Linked DNA regions of Homo sapiens: region 2 is linked to region 1. The links are contacts of gene promoters, found by promoter capture Hi-C in human tissues and cell types (Jung and others, 2019). All regions are on one chromosome and are shown on one strand. Each heading gives the region's core, a stretch centred on a gene start or on the middle of the fragment in contact. The rest is flanking DNA. Distances are from core to core; before and after follow the strand shown.

Region 1 (3,802 bases), core at 708-3,207:
ACTGTCGGTGTGCACAAACTCATTCTGACAGGGCAGGTGTCCTGTGGCTTAGCCAGCCTGGATTAAGGGACAAAGCAGAAGGTGGGCTTGAGCCATAGATAACAGAAGGCTGAAGACTACCAAACCCCACAGAGAAGGACCTAAGACATCAAAGTCCCCCTTCCCAGCTCCTGCCACTTGGCATAATCATTCTCCCACTTACCTGGCACTTCACAAGTGTGATCTCATTTCTAATCCTCACCGCAACTATACTGAAGTATCTTCTCTTCATTTTACAGAAAGAAACAGTCTCAGAAACTACTCCCATCTTGCGAATAGTAAGCAGTGGAGCCAGGATTTGAACCTGAGACCATGCACTGGGGGCTCTTGCCCCCACAAACAAACCTGGAAAAACTTCCAGAAGCATCCTGAAGTGGCCCCCCCCAGTGCCATTTACTGTGGAACTCAGGCCTCAGGGCCAGAGCAGGCTCCCACTGGACTCCTCTCCCCACATTGTGGCCTCTCCCTGTAACCAGGTCTGCCTCCCCCACAACAGGGAAGCTCTTGAAGCCATGGATTAGCACCATGCTCCTTAAAGACCATACTCAAGTGTCTCAAGTCTTTGATGAGAAAGTAGAATTACAGGATTATACTCTCAATCAATATTTGTTAATACCACCTTGCAGCTGGGCATGGTGGCTCATGCCTGTAATTCCAGTACTTTGGGAGGCCAAGGTGGGAGGATCGCTAGAGCCCAGGAGTTAGAGGCTGCAGTGAGCCGAAATCCCGCCACTGCACTCCAGCTGGGGCAGGAGAGCAAGACCCAGTCTCCATAAAATAAAATGGGTTGGGAGCAGTGGCTCATCCAGCACTTTGAGAGGCCAAGGCTGGTGGATCACTTGAGGTCAAGAGTTGAAGACCATCCTGGCCAACATGGTGAAACCCTGTCCCTACCAAAATATATATATACATACACACACAAAAAAATTAGCCGGGTGTGGTGGCATGTGCCTGTAATCCCAGCTACTCGGGAGGCTAAGCCAAGAGAATCGCTTGAACCAGGAGGCAGAGGTTGCAGTAAGCCGAGATTGTGCCACCACACTCCAGCCTGGGCTGCAGAGTGAGATCCTGTCTCAAAGATAAATAAATAAATAAATACTACCTTGGAGTTTCCTATAAAAATACGTGTTTTCTTCCTATAAAAATCTTAGTTCTTAGCTGAGGAGAGTTTGAAAGCATCTCACAGGCACTGAGCGGCAAGGCAGTCGGCCCAGATGCAATCACTTTCTGGAAATCAATTGAAAATAGAACCGGGAAACCAGCCTCCACTCCTGATACTGTTACTAACCTGCTATAAGACTTTGTGCTCACCTTTGCTTCCTGGGCCTCAGCTTCCCTGTTTCTGAGAGAAGAGATCCCCTCTCCGAGATCTCTTCCCGCTTTCTATAAATATTGATTGAGTACCCGCTGCCTGCCAGGGATATCGCCCTGGGCTCCTGGGATACAGCTGGAATCTCGACAGCCTGGGGAGGAAGGAGCCTTTGATCCTACAGCGGCAAGAGTTCTTGACACTTGCCGGCTGCCAAGCCTGTTTCCTCCCGGTCTAACGTTCTGTGGTTGTCTGAATCTCCAGCTGCCCCTCAAAACCTTCAATCAGATTAGCGCCGTGCTCCTTTAAAGACCCTACTCAAAGTGCCTGGAGCTCACCTGGGTGTGTTTGTGAGGCCCTTTCCCTCTCTTTACCCCGCGGAGGAGTCCGACCTGGAAGCCTCCTGCTGGACTTCTCTACTGGACTGAGTGCCCGGGAGTGCCAGAGCCAGTCCCAAAAAGGACCCAGGAGCGGGGACACCACGGGGAGGCGCCGCCACTCCAGTGTGCGGGACCCTGGCACCCCCGGCGCGTTCTCCGGCCTCCCCAGGATCACCTGCACGGGGCGGGGCCGGGGGCGGGACGCCCCGGGCGGGGGCGGGATCCCAGGGTGGCAGCGCCGGGCGGCGGCGGGGACCCTGGCTGGGAGCGCGGCGGTGCCGGCGGGAGGCCGAGCGGGGCTCGACAGAGCAGGTAGGAGGCGCCTGGTCGCCGGGGTTGCCCGGGGCTGCGGGGAGCGAGGAGCGGTCCGGCCCAGGTGCGGTGGCTTCCTGTCCACCTGCCGGCCGCGCTGGGCGAAGGAGGGCCCGGGGGTGGGGACGAGGGGTCCCCAGTCTCACCCCCACATCTGTTGGAGGAAGTGCCTGGGGTCTGCGCGGGAGGGCGTTGGTCCGGGGTGGTGGGAGGGAGGCTGATCATCTCCAGTGGGTCTTGGAGACGAGGTCGTTTCCTTGTCCCCTCCCCACCCAAGCATCTGGCGGAGGGGCCGAGGCTCGCTGGAAGAAAAGGGAGTCGACCTTGACCCGGCCTGGAGATAAAGGAACTTTTACCCACTTGGGGCCTTATCCGCCCCATCTGTTAAATGGGCGCCTTGATGGGTCTGCCCTATGCAGAGGCCCCTCCGGAAGATCTGCGATTCAGCGAGATGAAAACCCACGGCAGAGAAGGAGCCCAGGGCCGTAGTTTCCATCCACAGCACGTTTGGAGGGGCTCGGGGGTCGCTCATCCAGCAGCGCTCCTGAGGAAGGATGCAGAGACGGCTCCAGTCCTCTGGGTATCCTTGTGGGAGGAGATGGCTGTGTCAAATATGAAGGCTGGATTAGAGAGACCAAGGCAGCCCTTGAGTCTGGGAGAAGATTCTGGAAGGCCCCTTGGAGGAGGTGGCATCTGAGTGGGGCAGGGAAAGGAAAGGTGGTGGTTAGGGCAGCGCTTTGGAGTCCCTGCTTTACCCCTCAGCCAAGGCCGTCCAACAGTCTCGGGCAAGTCCACACTTTTCTCTATGTTTCAGTTTGATGTGCTCCTTAAATGAAACAATTTCTCTGACAGATTAAATCAGATAACTCATAAAGTGTTTAATACAGGGTGGGTATATAGTAGGCACTCAATGAACATGAGCTATTAATGTCTGCTAGCAGCTGCTTGGGGGCAGGGATGATGCCTATTTGGTTCACCCTTGTATCCCCAGCACCAGCACGGTGCCCAGCATGCAGTAGGTCTCAATACATATTTGTCCAATGAATGAATGAATGCATATGAAGTACAATGCTTGGCACAAATAGTGAATTTACAGATGGCTGGTTCTAAGAGGTGGGTATGGATACTAGAGACAGTGGTCTAGGTGGATGGAACAGTTATAAGCAGAAGCCAAGAGCAACAGATTATAGGCACCCCCTCTTATGGTGCATGTGTGTATGTGTGCATGTGTGTGTGTGTGCGCTTGTGTGCATGTGTGTGCATGTGGGTGTGTGCACGTGTGTGCGTGTGTGTGCGTGTGTGTGTTGGTGGTGGTAGTAGAAAGTGACAGGCACAGCCAGAGCACCGGGATAGAAGAGGGCACATAATACCCTGGAATCCTGAGTCCCATCAGCCCGTGGGAGTGGATGATGGGGCAGGAACTCTAGGTAGGCCAATACCTTTACTCATGTCCTCTAAGTGGGGAGAGGGGACAGAAGGGCAGCCAAGAGACACCAAAGGACCATGAATGCCTGGTGGGAGGGGAGGAGGAAATGGGAAGGGGGTTCCCATGACCCCTTCATGGCCTGTGGCTTTCTTCACCTTGTCCCTGCTGGGCTCTGTGCTGGCTGGGGCCGAGATGAGCTGTGGGGAGGCAGCATGGTGCCAAGCCAGCCAGCCGCGGCGCGTGCGGTGAGCTGGGCATATAGTGAGCTGGGCTTGAGGAACTGGCTGGGCTCTGTGGGAATCTAGTGTAGTGGTTTCCTATCAACAGCTTATCCCC
Region 2 (3,802 bases), core at 45-2,544, 390 kb before region 1:
GGCCGCACTGCCTCCATCCCCCAAGACCAGAGAGCTCTCTTGGAAATGGAAAAGCAACTAGCATGTTTCAAACACTTCTTGTGCACCTAGCACCTTATAATCTGTTATTTCAGCCTTGCACTGACCCTGGGAGGGAGATATCACTACTCTCATTTCATAGAGAGGAAAACTGAGGCTTAGAGAGGAGAGGTGACCTGGGCAAGCTCATTGCTGACCTGCCTTCTCTCATGCCATCCCATCCGCCTGGGTGCCCTCCACATGTCACTGGCCTGGCAGATCCTGCCCATCTGGATTCATTTTCTATTGCTGTCATAACAAATTACCACACACACAGTGCCTTAAAAATGATACAAACTTATTATCTCACAGTTCTCTAGGTCAGAAGTCCAGGTGGGCTCAGCTGGTTCCTCCGCTCTGGGTCTCACATCTGGAACCGATGGGGGAGAAGACACTTCCAAGCCCCCTTGGGTTGTCAGCAAAACTTAGTTCTTTGTGGCTGTAGGGCTGTGGTCCCTGTTTCCTGGCCGATTGTTAGTGGGAGCCTCTCAGCTCCGGAAGGCACCCACATTTTTCATCACGTTACCACTCCATCGTCAAACCAGAAACGGCACCATGGAGTCCTGTTTATGCTTCAAATCTCTCTGACTTCCCCTTCTGCCACTTCTCTTCTGCCTCCATCTGGAGAAAGTTTTAAAGGCTCATGGGATTAGATTGGGCCCATCTGGATTATCCAGGATAACCTCACTATTTGAAGATCTATGTCTCAGTCTATTTTGTGTTGTTATTACAGAATATCACAGGCTGGGTAATTTATAATGAACAGAAGTGTATTTGGCTCATGTTTCTGGAGACTTGGAAGTCCAAGAGCATGGCACTGGCATCTGGTGAGGGCCTTTGTGCTGTGTCATCCCATGGTGGCAGGTGGAAGGGCAAGAGAGGGTGAGAGTAAGCCAGCAAGAGAGGGCAGAACTCACTTTTCTTTTCTTTTCTTTCTTTCTTTCTTTTCTTTCTTTCTTTCTTTCTTTCTTTCTTTCTTTCTTTCTTTCTTTCTTTCTTTTTCTTTCTTTTTCTTTCTTTCTTTTTTCTTTCTTTTTTTCTTCTTTCTTTCTTTTCTTTCTTTCTTTCTTTCTTTCTTTCTTTCTTTCTTTCTTTCTTTCCTTCCTTCCTTCCTTCCTTCCTTCCTTCCTTCCTTCCTTTTCTTTCTTTTCTTTCTTTCTCTTTCTTTCTTCTTTCTTTCCTCTTTTTTTTTTTTTTTTGAGACAGAGTCTTGCTCTATCACCCAGGCTGGAGTGCAACGGGGCGATCTCAGCTCACTGCAACCTCTGCCTCCCGGATTCATGCGATCCTCCTGCTTCGGCCTCCTGAGCAGCTGGGATTACAGGCGCCCGCCACCACTCCCGGACACTTTTTGTATTTTTTAGTAGAGACAGACTTTCACCATGTTGGCCAGGCTGGTCTCAAACAACTGACTTCAAGTCTTGGCCCCGCAAAGTGCTGAGTGGCATAAGCCACTGCCCCTGGCCAGAACTCACTTTTTAACAATCCATTCTTGATAAACACACTCCCGCAAGACTGACCTTAATCTATTCATGGGGGCAGCGTTCTTAAGGACTAAATCACCTTTTAACAGGGCCACTTCTTAATGCAATCACAATGATGATTAAATGTCAACAGGAGTTTTAGAGGGGACATTCAAACCATAACAGTCTATAACGTTAATTAAGATTCCTACTGCCACGCAATACTGACATCTAACATATTCTTAGCTTCTGGGGATTAGGGCAGAGCACCTTTAGAGGATCATTCTGCCTACCATGGTCTTCCCTCTGTCCCCCACCCAAAATCCACATCTCTTTCTTTTTTCTTTTTTTTTTTAGATGGAGTTTCACTCTTGTTGCCCAGGCTGGAGTGCAATGGCGTGATCTCGGCTCACCGCAACCTCTGCCTCCCGGGTTCAAGCGATTCTACTGCCTCAGCCTCCCGAGTAGCTGGGATTATAGGCATGTGCTACCATGCTTGGCTAATTTTGTATTTTTAGTAGAGATGGGGTTTCTCCATGGTGGTCAGGCTGGTCTCGAACTGCCGACCTCAGGTGATCTGCCTGCCTCGGCCTCCCAAAGTGCTGGGATTACAGGTGTGGGCTGGGATTACCCAACCCACATCTCTTTCAAATGCAAAATCCATTCACTCCATCCCAATGTCCCCCAAAGTCTCATCTCATTACAGCATCAACTCAAATTCCCAAATCAACAGTATCTAAGTCAGAGTCAAATAGACTCTGGGCATAGTCCAGTCAGTACAACTCTCGGGGTACAGTTTCTCTCTATCTGTGGGCCAGCAAAACTAAAGTTTTCTGCTCCCAACATAAAATGTGGGACAGGCACAGGATAACAGTTGCAGACAATCTGGCTCAAGCATGGGGACATGAAAGGGACAATCAGGTCATGGTCCAATGCAGTTTGAAAATCCAGCCAAGAAAACTCCATTAGGTTTCAAGGCCTGGGAAGAATTCTCTTTCGCTCTTAGCACTGCCCTTTGAGCTTCTGGTTTCACCGTCTGAGATATCCTTCCTTTTCACTAAAGGTAGCAGGTGTTTGCAGCTAAGTAGTTTTACCAGTCTGCATCTCAACAGTAGAAACTGGAGAGTCCAACAGCCTTCTTTGATTTCATACTCTCTGTGTTCCATTTAATCCAAGCTAACAGTGTTTCTGTGGATGTAAACGTCTCAGGAACTTTACGGGTCTCCTATGGATGTCATGGGGGAATCCACTGCATTATTAGATAAAAGCCAGGTCCACAGATCCTTTTTTCAGATAAGCCCTTCTCTACTTTTGGCTCCAGCTGAGATGGCTGAGGGACAATGCTGTTCAGCTTCCTAGAAGTCCCCTGGTTTGATTGAAGGGGACTGTGAGTTATAATCTTAATCTCTTCAAAGAGCCTTTTGAGCGACTGAGTACTTTGATCTTTTATCTTCCTGAAGTTTGGTATAATCACATACTTGGCTGTTTCTCTATGTCACACTTTTGGGAGCAATCTCTTTTTTTTTTTTTTTTTGAGATGGAGTCTTGCTCTGTCACCCACCCAGGCTGGAGTGCAGTGGCATGATCTTGGCTCACTGCAACCTCCGCCTCTTGGGTTCAAGTGATCCTCCCACCTCAGCCTCCTGAGTAGCTGGGATTACAGGTGCCCGCCACCACACCCAGCTAATTTTTGTATTTTTAGTAGAGACGGAGTTTCCCCACATTGGCCAGGCTGGTCTCAAACTCCTGACCTCAGGTGATCTGCTCGCCTCGGACTCTCAAAGTGCTGGGATTACAGGCATGAGCCACTGTGCCCAGCTACAATCTCTTAATTTTATTGTTTTTTGCATAGGTTGAGAACCTCCCAAATCATCAAGTCCTGGTTCCTTTCTGTTTAAGTTCTTCCCTCATTTTCTCTCTCTCCTCTTGCATTTTACTATAAGAGGCAGGAAGAAACCAGGCCGTGCCTTCCACATTTTATTTGGAAACCTTCTCGGATAAGCATTCAAATTCATCATTTACAAGCTCTGTGTCCCATATGACTGCAGGACACAATTCTGCTAAGCTTTCTGCCAGTACAGAACAAGTTTCTTCCTTTCTCAAGTTTTCAATTACACGTTCCTTACCTTGTGAAGCAGTGCCTTGAGTGTTAGTGCGTCTACTAACAGGCTTTTCACGATGATTGAGGTATTCTTGGAGGGGATTTAGCTTTTCTCTAAAATGCTACTTGTTTCTTTCTGCACTCTGAGTCTTCAACTTCCACATTCCTACCGATAGTCTGT

What was found. Contacts are between HindIII fragments. The study calls those that stand out against the background at their distance.
Region 2: a contact is called between a fragment that was not itself captured here and the fragment with the promoter of NCMAP in region 1, in 1 of the 25 tissues and cell types used here (lymphoblastoid cells).

Annotation. Positions count from the first base shown.
Region 1 is chr1:24,554,130-24,557,931 of GRCh38, forward strand. NCMAP (non-compact myelin associated protein) reads left to right here and starts at 1,958. Exons shown (of 4, transcript NM_001010980.5): 1 at 1,958-2,040. NCMAP-DT (NCMAP divergent transcript) reads right to left here and starts at 1,895. Exons shown (of 3, transcript NR_109781.1): 1 at 1,687-1,895. The HindIII fragment of the contact is 18,614 bases long and covers 1-3,802 here.
Region 2 is chr1:24,161,723-24,165,524 of GRCh38, forward strand. All of the region lies in intron 3 of IFNLR1 (interferon lambda receptor 1), which reads right to left. Among named protein-coding and RNA genes, the nearest start is that of IL22RA1, 20 kb to the left of the region's middle. The HindIII fragment of the contact is 5,076 bases long and covers 1-3,802 here.